Linked DNA regions of Homo sapiens: region 1 is linked to region 2. Evidence: promoter capture Hi-C in 16 types of primary human blood cells and fetal thymus (Javierre and others, 2016). All regions are on one chromosome and are shown on one strand. Each heading gives the region's core, a stretch centred on a gene start or on the middle of the fragment in contact. The rest is flanking DNA. Distances are from core to core; before and after follow the strand shown. Region 1 overlaps REV1 (REV1 DNA directed polymerase). Region 2 holds the start of MGAT4A (alpha-1,3-mannosyl-glycoprotein 4-beta-N-acetylglucosaminyltransferase A).

Region 1 (6,915 bases), core at 3,426-5,925, 750 kb before region 2:
GTTCACGCCATTCTCCTGCCTCAGCCTCCCGAGTAGCTGGGACTGCAGGCACCTGCCACCACGCCCGGCTAATTTTTTGTATTTTTAGTAGAGACGGGGTTTCACCGTGTTATCCAGGATGGTGTCGGTCTCCTGACCTCGTGATCCGCCCGCCTCAGCCTCCCAAAGTGCTGGGATTACAGGCGTGAGCCACTGGTCCCAGCCCAGAACAGGGAAATTTTAAACCTTCTAGGAACTATTTGAAATTAGCTTGTTCACTTAGGATTTTGTATTTTGGCATGAGATAAAGGTGGGTTAATTGAATTTTTTTCTTTTTTAACATTTTTTGAGACAGGGTCTTGCTCTGTTGCCCAAGCTGGAATGCAGTGGTGTGATCACGGCTCACTGCAGCCTCAACCTCCTGGGCTCAAGCCAGCCTCCCGCCTCAGGCGCTCGAGTAGCCTGCACTACAGGCATGTGCCACCATGCCTGGCTAGTCTTTTAATGTTTTGTAAAGATGGGGTCCTACTGTTTTGCCCAGGCTGGTCTCAAACTCTTGGGCTACAGTCTCCTGCCTCATCCTCCTGCCTCATCCTCCCAAAATGGTGGGATTACAAGTGTGAGCCACTGTGTCTGGCTAAATTTTATATTTATTACTTTGGTGCTGAATTTTTGTTAGCCACCAAAATTGTATTTATGGAACGCCTTTAAAAAATACATTTTGTGGATGTCTAGAGCAAATTAAAAAATAAACTGTTGAGAATGGTGACTGGTGTTTGGTCTTAATGTGTAAGTCAGGTTTTTTATTTTTCAATCTGTAGAAGATGCTAAGAGTGATTATCTCAACAACCGCCCACCAGAGTGGCTTTTATAGAGTTCCCTTTGAAGTTCAGCTGGAGATCTGATTGTGGTGATGAAAGGACTTGCTGGAGGCTTCGTGTCTTCAGACAGGAAAGTCCTTGAAGATCCAGTTGAAATATGAGTCTTGTAGTATTTGGGAAGGAAATTTTTATCATCTTTAGTTGTGTTCAGTTTCTCCCTTCTTTCACTGGGTTTTTCCCCTCAGATTATATTTGGTTATTAATTGGAACTTAAAGTAACCCAGCTGTGCTCTGTATCTTTCTGTTCTTTTCATAATGATTTATTTTTCTTTAGCAGATACAGAAATAAGAGAAGAAAGAATTGATGGAGACAGTGACTTTGTAATAATAGATATTTTCAGCTAATACAACTTGAATTATTCTCATAAACTAAGATTCTGCCTGTGGTAATTGAACTTGCATAATACCAGTTATTTTAAATTCACTTGTCCTTAGTAAAATGCTTCTTTGTAGGATTGTTATTTCATTTCTCAGTCTGAACTTTAACAAGTAATAGGATCCTAAACCCTAGGTGTAAATTTTTTTTTAAAAGTCAAAGGGCTGCTGCTTTGTGTAACATTTCTTCCAAAATTTAATAATTGTGAGTTATTATTTACTGTGTGCTAGGCTCTTTCCTAGGTGCAGTGTCTTAATTAATATCTACAGCTACCGTATAAGGTTGGCACCATTATAAAGAAACAGATTTAGAGAGGTGTTGTTATTTGGCTGGTTACACAAGAAAGGAGGCAAGATTTCAGGCCAGTTCCCGAGGTCATAACCGGTCTGCTGTGGGACACCTTAAAATGACAAGGTTTTTGTTTGGAAGCTTGCCGTTAAATTTATCTCATTATTTGTGAGTGTGTGTTGTTAACTACTGGCAGCTTCATCATTATTTATGGCTAATTTTTTGTTTTTTTTTTAGATTTAACTACTACTACTATACTTAAATGCTTGTATTATAAGTGAAATGTTTTAATAGGATGATGACTTGCATCGTAATTAATGTTTTTCTCATATTTAAAAGTCATTAAAAATAAGTCAAAGAATCATGTGTCTTGGTGCTTCAGCTTTGTAAATAGTTTGAAAAGGTTTTGCATATAATACATTAGATTTAAGAAAACATAAATGTCTTAAGTTTGCTCAGGGCTAAATTGGAGGTAGCAAGTAAATATTTAGTAAAAGTTACTAGTGATGTGTTTCCTGCTGACTATGGGGCAATTTTTTTTTTAAACTTCTATCTTAGGTTCTGGGGTACATATGAATGTTTGTTATATAGATAAACTAGTGTCATGGGGGTTTGTTGTACAGATTGTTTCATCACTCAGGTATTAAGCCTGATACACAATAGTTACTTTTTCTGCTCGTTTCCCTCCTCCCACCCTCCACGCTTAAGTAGACTCAGTGTCTATTGCTCCCTTCTTTGCGTTCATGAGTTCTCATCATTTGGCTGCCACTTGCAAGTGAGAACATGTGGTGTTTGGTGTTCTGTTCGTGTGTTAGTTTGCTAAGGATAATAGCCTACATAGGAGATCTTTACCTGGATCTCCTTCAATAAGGAGGAACACATAGGTGGGATGTTTTTACATAAATTTTAATGGTTTCTGACATTTCCTTGCAAGGCTTTTTTAATTTGTAAGAATATCTAAATTATGAGTTATTGGCTTCTCAACACCTCAGAATGTCAGGGGTAGGAAGAATCTTACAGACTCCAGAGGCAATGCCATTATATCTTACTGGAGGAAAGTGAGACCCCAAGAGTCATTTGCCTGCTAAAGAGGAGAAATAAGATGAGACCCTAGGTTTTCCCCCCAAGGCCATTTTTTCCCCCTGCTACACCAAACTGTTCCCTGCATTACTGAGGGAAAGACCAGCAACACTTAGTATCTCATATTCAAGAGGGTGGAAAATAAAACGATATGTTCTTGTAAAATTACGATTTAAAGTCTTGATTTTATCATTGGAACATAATAGAAAAAAATTTTGTCCTCTATTATAATGCAGTTGAAAATGATACTTTCTCATATAGGCAGGAGACTGCCTTATCCACATAGGATGCTTTGAGAAACCTTTTAAAGACTAGTCGGGTCCCATGGCTTTGTGCTTGAATTAAAATATTAGGTAGTGATGGGCAAAAAAAGTTGGTTGTGATGTGAGTAGTTCGTATTCAAACTCATAGCCTATTAAGCAAAGTGTTGCTTACTGACCTCAGTCATTCCTGATCATACCCAAGGCTAAAATGAACTTTTTGGAGGTTTAGTCACAAAATAATGGCTGCATCTTACATTCTCTAAGCTCCATCATTTCTACATTTGCTATTTCTAGGAATGGACTTAATGCATTTTTATCTTTTAGGCACTGGTCTGAGTTATGTAGTTGAAACTACTTAGATTTTTTGCTCTTTTAAATGGTTTTCATTAAGTTCTGTATTTTACTCATAATAAATTCAATTTCTTGATGACTCCTTAGCTTTTTATTTTAAGCCTTTTTTTTTAAAGCATTTAACCTGGACAGTTCTGAACTTTACAAATGTTTTAACAATTTCTTCTTCAATATCTTAAAGACCGTAACAAAAAAAAAATTTTTTTTTTTTTTTTTGAAACGGAGTTTTGCCCTTGTCGCCCAGGCTGGAGTGCTATGGCATGATCTTGGTTCACTGCAACCTCCTCCTCCCAGGTTCAAGCGATTGTCCTGCCTCAGCCTCCCAAGTGGTTGAGATTACAGGCACCTGCCACCACGCCCAGCTGGGTTTTGTATTTTTAGTAGAGACGGGGTTTCACCATGTTGGCCAGGCTGGTCTCGAACTCCTGACCTCAGGTGATCCCGCCTGCCTCGGCCTCCCAAAGTGTAAATTTTTTAATACAGAATTTTTTCTCATGATAATCTTCTCTGTGTCATTCCAATTTTAGTGTATGTGCAGCCGAAGCAAACACAACGTTTTATATCTTAAAGAGTGCTTTTACCTAACTTTTTTCTCATTTAATTCTCTTAAGAGTCCTGGGAAGAGAAGTAAGGCAGCATATCCTATTTTATAGCTGTAGTGTAATTTGGGCACCTGCTACCCAGAGTTAGGTAAGGCATCGTAAGTTAAGGGTACAGTCTGCAAGACTCTCCTCACTTCTTATATTAGCTACAAACTCCAGGACTTGCAGGTTATCCACACTCTGACCAACTGGCTACAACTTTCGGAGTTCCCACTACACCTCACGTTTGATAATTTGGTAGAATGACTCGCAGACCTCAGGAAAGTGCTGTTCTTGGAATTACAGTTATGATACAAATCAGGACCAGCCAATTAAAGAGACACATAGAACAAGATCTGGGAGGGTCCCAAACATGAAGCTTCCATGTCCTCAGGACGTGTCATCCTTCCAGTACAGCAGTGAATGATTGCCAGCCAGGAAACCTCACTTACTCTACAGCATCTGGAGTTTTTATGGGACTTTTATTACATAGGTATGATTGAACTCAGTCCCCAGTCCCCTTCTCCCTGGAGGTCAAGTTGTTAGGCTGATGTCAGGTTGCTCAAAGCCCAACCCACTATTCACATGGTTGGCATTTCCAGCATGGCCAGGCCCCATCCTGAAACTAGGGGCCTACTGGGAGTCACCCTGTTAATAGAAACTCAGCTGTGGGCCAAGGAGGACCCATTATGGATTCATGGATAACAAAGACACTCCTATCAGTTGGGAGACTCCAAGAGTAGAGTTTTCCAGGAATCAGACAATGGCCAGTCAAATTTTTTTGTTTTTGTTTTTTTAGGGACGGGGTCTCACTGTGTCACAGTGGTGCTATCATAGCTCACTGTAGCCTCCAGCTTTCAGGCCAAAGTGATCCTCCTGCCTCAGCCTCCCCAGTAGCTAGGACTACAGGCACACACCACCGCACCTGGCTAATTTAAATTTTTGTGTGTGTGTGTGTGTAGGGATCTCCCCATGTTGCCCAGGCTGGTTTCAGACTCCTGGCCTCAAGTGATCCTCCTGCCTTGGCCTCCCAGAGTGCTGGTATACAGGCATGTGCCACTGTGCCTGGGCCCCAAATTCTTTATTACACAATGCTGGCTAAAGAAGTGAGAACAGACACTTGCTCAATTTATGACAGCTAAAACTAGTAGTAGTGATAGTAACCCAGTTACCTCTGTTGTATTAAAAATTGGAACAGGTTGCATTTGAATATGGATAGAAGGATTGCCTTCTGTTGAGAATTACTACATAACATTTTTTTTATTGATACAATATAATTTAAAACTTGGGTTATTCACTTGAGTTAAATGTTTTAATTACATAAATTTTGTAGCTTGGGTTATAAACTGTATACTTGATACTTTAAAGCTTAATAATTGGCTGTAAAAAATCTGAATTTTGGTATTGGTCTTGAATTTGTACTTTTAGATGTACGTAATTATTCATTAGTTATTTGGAAGAAGAAATTATGAAGTGAGATATTTATGGGTAGGGTGGAGGCATTGATAATCTATTTGTGTTAGGGTTGTAAAATGTTTCAGTAACTTAATTGCTGTTTTGAATTTTAGCACTTGAGTCAAAGTTACTAACACTTCAAGTTTACTGTGTTGGAGGTTAATATTCTTTTGCATATTATTTATGCCTAATCTTATTTCAGATTGTCACTTGAAGATTATATTGAATTATCTTGGAACTCACTGTTCCTCAGAGATTATAGTGTGCTAAATTGTTACATTGAATAAGACTTCTGGTGTCTTGAAGAATGTAGCATGTTGTAATGTTTTTGTTTTTTTAAAAGTATATAATTTTAAATATATTCTTGGTGTAAGCAAGGGAAAATTCCAGAAGCAGTGACAACTTCTGCTTCCTTTATGTTTATTTGGAATTACATTTAATAGAAGCATTTGTGAGAAAAGGGATTTGTGAATGCTGGAACTGATAGCAGGTCCAGAAAAAAAGAGTTTGACTATATTTTTGAATTGCAGTTGCTCTGAGGGATTTGTTTTTAGTTATGTGTCATTGTTTATGCCAGTTACCTTGTGAGTTCAGAGATCTAATGACTTGTGTGGGTGGAATGCACAAGGTGAGGACTTCTGCTAAGATTTATACGTTATGGTGTAGGCTAGGCTCAGGAGCCAGAAACTCTCCCACCCAATTTACACTTGCTTAAAACTTACAAAGTAAGGTTTAAACTTCTTAGTATGATATATTCAAGGCCTTCTGTTATATTTCTCCACCTACCTTAGTTTGTCTACCTCTACATCTGGCCATGTTCCTACATACTGGTAAGTTCTAGAATGTTGTCCTAAACATCTTTTTGTATTTTTTATGAGGCAGAGTCTTGCTCTATAGTCTAGGCCTGAGTGCAGTGACGTGATGATGGCTCACTACAGTCTTAACCTCCCAGGCTCAAGCAGTTCTCCCATCCCACTCTCCCAAGTAGCTGTGGCCATGGGCGTGCACCACCATGACTGGCTAATTAAAAACAAATTTTTTGTGGAGACAAGGGTCTCACTTCATTGCCCAGGCTGATCTCGAATTCCTGGGCTTGAGCAGTCCTCCTGCCGTAACCCCGCAAAGTGCTGAGATACAGGTGTGAGCCACTGCACTCGGCCCTTTTATGTTTTTAATTATGAATTTTTCTTCTTCCTGAAATCTTTGCCTTCATGTCACCCCTTCCCACCTACCTTCTATCCTACCTTCTATCCTGTAAAATCCTACTGATTGTTCTTAGTTCAGATCTACCTCTCAGTGATGCTTTCTTGGGTGTCTTCTCGAACATGAGATTTATGGCTGTTTTCTCTGTGCATTTATTGCATTCCATTAGTGCCTATAATGCAGGATCTTGTATTATTATTATTATTATTATTATTTTTACTTTTTTGGTCTTGTTCTGTCTCCCAGGCCAAGTGCAGTGGTTCACTGCAGCCTTGACCTTCCAGGCTCAAGCGATCCTCCCACCTCAGCCTCCTGACTACAGGTGTGTGCCACCATGCCTGGCTCTTTTTATTATTTTTATTTTTTTTGTAGAGATGAGGTCTTGCTGTGTTGCTCAGGCTGGTCTCACGCAAGAGATCTTCCCACCTTGGCCTCCAAAAATGCTGGGATTACAGATC
Region 2 (6,270 bases), core at 1,552-4,051:
CTGGGATTACAGGAGTGAGCCACCACACCTGGCTTTTTTTTTTCTTTCTTTTGAGAGAGAGAGAGAGAGAGAGAGAGAGAGAGAGAGAGAGAGAGAGACAGGGTCTCACTCTGTCACCCAGGCTGTAGTGCAGTGGCATGATCATATTTCATTGCAGCCTGGAACTCCTGGGCTCAAATGATCCTCATGCCTCAGCCTTCCCAGTAGCTGGGACTACTGATGCATGCACACCAGGCTAATTTTTAATTTTTATTTTTTTAAAGACATGGGTCTCTCTCTGTTTCCCCGGCCGGTCTCGAACTCCTGGGCTCAAGCAATCCTCCTACCTCTGCCTCCCAAAGTGCTGGGATTATGGGCATGAGCCACTGTGCCCAGCTGGGAAATATATGTAAAAATATTCATCCACTCAACAAAATTTTGTAACTTGCTGAAGATGTGAGCAGAGAGATAGTCTGGAGGGGTGATGTAGGGGCTCTGGAATCAAACAGACCTGGATTTGAACTCTGATTCAAACATTTACTAATTGCCTAAATTACTGTTTGTATCTGTCAAATGTCTTAATTTCTCAGGGCCTCAGTTTCTTCGTGAATAAAATAGGGATAATAGCTCCTGTTCCATTTGGTCTTTTGGGTAATTCATGAAAATGGCTTGGGGGCATTCTCCATGATGTTATCAAATGGCAGGACTTTCTTCCTCTGCAAGAAGTAGTTTGCTTGTCTGTCATTAAGAGCACTGTAATAGCAAAGCCTAGAATCATCTATTCCTAGGAGATATTTTAGGCAGGATATATCCAACAATGTATTAAAAGCTTTACCTTGGAATGGTCTCAGTCTTTACCTCTGTTTACATCTGGTCATGAATCAAATTGCCAGCTTGCTACTTGGCAATGGCTTTGTCATAGAATACAGGAAACCTGGCTTTCAGGTCCCCAATGTATTCGTCCGTTTTCATGCTGCTGATAAAGACATACCCAAGACTGGGCAACGGACAAAAGAGGTTCAATGGAGTTACAGTTCCACATGGCAGGGGAGGCCTCACAATCATGGTGGAAGGCAAGGAGGAGCAAGTCACTTCTTACATGGATGGTGGCAGGCAAAGAGAGTTTGTGCAGCAAAACTCCCTTTTTTAAAACCATCAGATTTCGTGAGACTTATTCACTATCACGAGAACAGCATGGGAAAGACCCTCCCCCATGATTCAATTACCTCCCACCAGGTTCCTCCCACCACACAGGAATTGTGGGATTTACAATTCAAGATGATATTTGGGTGGGGACACAGCCAAACCGGAAGTAGAGAGAAAACACACTCAAAGTAGAGGGAAGAGCTGTCATTGGATATCATGGCTGTGATCCCCCAAGTTGTGTCCACAGTGCTGGGCAGTGGACAGATCTTTTGGTATGGTTCCCCTAAACTAGTAAGAGACTATGGGAGCAGGGATGTTACGTGTCTCTTCCTGAAGTTTTAAATTAGCCGTCATGGAGAAACCTCAACATGGGAAGGCTGATAACTCCATGCATGTTCTAGCTGATTATTAATTATTCTTATCTTGAGATAAAAATAATGGAATTTATCGGAGGTGGGGAGGGGACCCTGTTCTGATTGATGCCTCTTAAGAGTTTTCGATTATTGAAATTACTGTTTTCTGAAAAGAATCTACTTATTACTTTGGGAGTTTGGCAGGAACAAGGCTGCCTCCTTGATCTTTGGCCCCTCAATTCCCTTACAGGTTACTCGGTAGGATTGCTGTAAGGATTATTGCGGCAATAAAGTTAACACATCCCTTGTTTTTGAACCATTACCAGCTGTGTGACCTTGGGCAAGCCCTTTCACCTCTCAGCTAGTTTCCTCTTATGAAAAATGGGGAATAAATTTAAAACATGAGATATGCAATAAACGATCTAACACCCATGCCTGCTATACGGTTGCCTGCTATACAGTTAAGTATTCAAAAGAGGACGTACCCAGGGGTAGTTACTGTTAGCACAAGTCCTATGGATACTATGAAAAACAGGGACAGACCACCCAGGCTTTCTACAAACGAGTCAGTTTTTTGCCTTTGAAGTTAACCTCTAACCTTGTGAAACGGCGACAGATAAGGACATGGGGTTCAAGAAAACGGGGCATAGTGGAAAATCAGGGGCATTAGCACCCAACGATGTGCGTTGAAACCCTAGTTGTTTTTCTCCTTCCCAGTTGCTGAAATCAGCCCTTCTGGCCGATTCGCGGGGTTCTCACCGGGAAGTTGGGGCTGTCGCGACCGTCCGCGGGGCCTCGGGAGCTCCTGTGGGGCTGGGCCCGGGACCTGTCCCCGGGGAGGCCGCCCAGTTTGGGCGGCCCGGAGCGGGGCGCGCCGCTGGGAAGGGGCCGGGTCGAGGCAGGCAGGCGCCTGGGAGCTGGGGCAGCCCCGGGTGGTCGGGTCGCGCGCCGAGGCGCAGGCCGAGGGCTCGCCCGGGCCTTTGTTGGCCGCCGGAGCGGTCCCTGCACGCGCCGGGAGGATCTCAGCCAGATGTGGCAGCGGGGCGGCGGGGAGCAGGCCGGCGCCCAGAGCTGGGACCCGAGACCGCGGCTCCGCTCCGGACCTCGCCGTGACACCGATGAGCCGGGCCAGCCTCCCGAACGCTCCGCAGGCTGCGTGGCGGCGCCCCTAAGTGACAGTCGCGCGGGCCACTGGTGGGGCGCGGGGCGCGGGGCGCGGGGCCCGCGGGGCCGGCCAATGGCTGGCGGGGTCGGGGCGGCCCGGCGGGGCGGGGCGGGGCGGGCGCTCCAGCGGCGGGGGCGGAGCCGGCGGGGCGGGCGGGGCGGCCCGCAGCGGCGGCGGCAGCGGCGGCGGCGGCTACAGCAGCTCCGCCGGCAGCCGCGGGAGCACGGCGACGCCAGCGGCGGGTGAGGGGCTCGCGGCGGCAGCGGCGGCGCGCGGGGGCGGGAGGGGGCGCGGGGCGGCTGCGCGGAGGGCGCGGGAGTTGGGGGCGGCGCCGGCGGCCGGGCTGGCGGCCCCGGGCTGCGGGAGATCCACCTGCTGGTAAAGGAGCCTACTGCGCCGCGGCCCGGCCGGAGCTCTGTGCGGGGGAGCTGTTGGCGCCTCTGGGCGCGGGGCCGGCTCCGGGAGCGGCTGGGCCTCGGGGGCGGGCGGCGGGGCGCGGGCCGGGCCGTCCTCCCAGCGTCCCTGCCCCGCACCGCGCACCCCTCGGGGTCGCGCGCCCTCTCTGCGGCCGGCTCGGCGCCTGGTGCGTTCCTGGCGCTCCCCGGCGTGGCGGGGCTCGGCGACTTTGGGGGAAAGTGGAGCAAAGTGCTGATCCGGGGGGTGCGGAGGGGGAGGGACAGCTGCCTGTGGGACCCGGGGGCTGCGCGGGAGTCGGCGCTTTCGCGGGGGCCGCGGGGCAGGTGGGCGGGGCCGGACGGTCCGAGGCGCAGGGGCAGGGGCTGCTCCCGAGGGGACCGGCCGTGCAGCCTTCGCAGGGAATTTTCACACAAAGTGAAGGGCTGCGGGGCCCGCGTGAAAGAGCAGCCCCCGTTTCCCCAGGCCTCAGCTCTCTCCGTAATGAGGAAGCTGCAGTAGGACCCTGAGGCTGGGTCTCGGTGACTCCACCAAGTGTGCCAGGTGACATCTCGGAGGCGAGCTTTTCTGAGCTGGCAGTCGAGCCACTTGCACACCCGCCTTTATTCCTCGCAACAGTGTGTTTCTCTGGAGCGGTTTCATTGCCTACATTCCGCATTGGAAAATAGAAGCAGGCACAATGTATGCTTTGAATGCTTTCCACGTATTTTGCTGTTGTGCTTTTGCTGTTGGACAGATTATTTGATAAAAGATAATGACAGTCGTTCGTTGGAACGTAGACTGTAAATTTAGAATAAAAATATGCGTTTTGTGGTTTATGTTTCTTTTTCTGAATGTTTAAAAAACAGTTTGATGAACAGGTTATCTTGACATAGATTTCTTTAACCCACACGTGTAAACCCGAAAACGCACTGGGCGATGACATTACGTAAGCTGTATTAAAGAAAACTACTGACCCGTTTATAAATGGCAAATAAATGAATTTTGCCACAATTGTGGTGTGTAAAGTTATATAGGCTTACGTCATGGATTTTATTGATTCCAGATATCAGGGATTATTGTGCCTTTCATTCTTAAGTCACCTCTACCCTGTCTGTGGGATGCTGATTAAGGAAGATGCCAAACGTTCGGCAAAGTGTTCTCAGCCGTGGACTATATTGAGTATTTCAGAGAACACTTTAAAATAAGTAAAGGTTTTGTATCCAATAATAAAATGAAGACTGAAGCCCTTAAAGGATTGCTAACAAAACAGTCTGATGTCTAGAGTTGAAAGTTCCATTCACCTTTGGGAGGGTGGAGAAATGACTAGCAATTTTAGCCACTACCTTTTTTTGTTGTTGTTAAAGATTCAAACGTGTTAGATTATAGTCTCCGAGAATATTAAGGGGCTAGATTAAAATTTTTGCAAATGTGGACACTAATAAAAATGTGGGTCACCTGTGTCTTACAAGCCAGCCTGTGAATTATGTCTCATAATTGAAGAGTGAGTAGATCCTTGGTTTTACTCTTGTCCGAAGAGTTTCTTCACTTGTGCCGTGCAGTTAAACTTATTAGCTGGGAAACCCTAATTAAAAATGTATGACTACATTCTTACTGAGTAAAACACGCATATTTTTCTTGCAAAATTTCAGGGCTTATTTGCTAGTAGAATTTATTGTAAGTATCTTCAGAGTTTCATAACTTACTGGATCCAGTATTTTTTTTTTTTCATATATTAGGGGTAGTATATCAATAGTTTACTTTGGTTTTAGAGTTCATTTACTTGTCTCTATGCATTTCTACGGAATGTTTTTACAAGCTTTATTTGTATTTAGTAAAACTTTTAAAATATCCTTAACTATATGATGTGCGCTCTACCTCCCCGTTATTATGAATTGAGTGCTTACTCTAATAACCTGTATGCTTTTTAGATCTTTTACTAGAACAAAATTCTTTCTCAAGTAAAATAGGGCTAAGTAGATAGCAGCTGAAAGTTATAAGTATTTTAATATAATGCCACACCGGGATTAATGTTCCAAGTTATATAATTCATAGAATTATCACCCGTGTTTTTATAATCAGAATTCATTATTGGGTGCTTATTGATTTAAGACAATTAGAGCAGTCTTGCTATGAAGTTTTTTTTTTTTTTCAAACTGAGTCTCTGTCACCCAGGCTGGAGTGCAGTGGTGTGATCTCGGCTCACTGCAACCTCTGCCTCCCAGGTTCAAGTAATTCTCCTGCCTCAGCCTCCCGAGTAAGCTGGGATTACAGGCACCTGCCACCACTCCTGGCTAATTTTTGTATTTTTAATAGAGACAGGGTTTCGTCATGTTGGCCAGGCTGGCCTTGAACTCCTGACCTCGGGTAATCTGCCTGCCTCAGCCTCCCAAAGTGCTAGGATTACAGGCATGAGCCACCACACCTGGCCACTGTGAAGATTTTAATTCTAAACTGTAGACGTGGGCATGTTTGATGTTAACTTGTCTTAACTGTAGAAGGTGAATAAGTTCAATCTTAGAGAACAATGATAACTTCTGCATGAGAATATTTTTAGATCTCTTTGTGTTCAGGTAGTAAAAGAGGTTAGGTGCTTCTAGAATATTATGTGGAAGGTAGAGCTGCTGTCTGAGGGTTAACAGGCATAGTTTGGTGGAGGGTTGTGGTGAGGTATTAGCCAAAAGCTACAGGAAGTGGAGATTTGTTTAAAGTTGTATAAACATACACTTTGAAAATTTCCATGAATTTTGCAACTTACTCCTTAGTAGATCAGTGTGTGTTATATAATTTATTTTTTTAATTTACACTTACAGTTGGGTATAATTCTGCAGTTTTACCTGATACTTGGAGTATCCCTGGAACTTCTCTTCATATTGCCAGGTGCAGGAGGCCTCATTTGAGAGGGAAAGTGTAGCAGCTAAGAGCTTGGACTTTGGAGACAAACAAATTCGAGTTCTTTCTCTGGATTCATTTCCTTGTGTGTAGAACAGGGTTAATAATGCCTGCCTCATAGGAACGATTTTGTGAAGATTTAAACCATGTGGTGGATCAGGCACATAGGAAACATTTCATAAGTTGTAGTGGCTGTCATTATTAGTACTATGCCCCTGTGATCTTTCTTTACTAGGGGGAATTTCTAGTAGTGTTCAGTGTTAAGAAGCAGTGGTGGTGGCAATTTCTGAATTGCCTGCAAATGGCTGCTTGAATCGGTTGTGCTCTTCCCCAGAGAGAATT

Evidence for each region. The method cuts DNA at HindIII sites, captures the fragments that hold promoters and counts their contacts. A CHiCAGO score of 5 or more calls a contact.
Region 1: a contact is called between a fragment that was not itself captured here and the fragment with the promoter of MGAT4A in region 2, in 1 of 17 cell types (fetal thymus). The highest score is 5.3, in fetal thymus.

The regions. Positions count from the first base shown.
Region 1 is chr2:99,479,537-99,486,451 of GRCh38, reverse strand. The region is part of intron 1 of REV1 (REV1 DNA directed polymerase); the gene reads left to right. Among named protein-coding and RNA genes, the nearest start is that of REV1, 7.0 kb to the left of the region's middle. The HindIII fragment of the contact is 989 bases long and covers 4,181-5,169 here.
Region 2 is chr2:98,727,663-98,733,932 of GRCh38, reverse strand. It overlaps MGAT4A (alpha-1,3-mannosyl-glycoprotein 4-beta-N-acetylglucosaminyltransferase A), which reads left to right and starts at 2,801. Exons shown (of 16, transcript NM_012214.3): 1 at 2,801-2,885. It overlaps LOC107985922 (a long non-coding RNA gene), which reads right to left and starts at 2,652. Exons shown (of 2, transcript XR_007087150.1): 1 at 2,238-2,652. RefSeq lists silencers at 1,853-2,147, 2,254-2,443, 2,464-2,793. The HindIII fragment of the contact is 4,047 bases long and covers 811-4,857 here.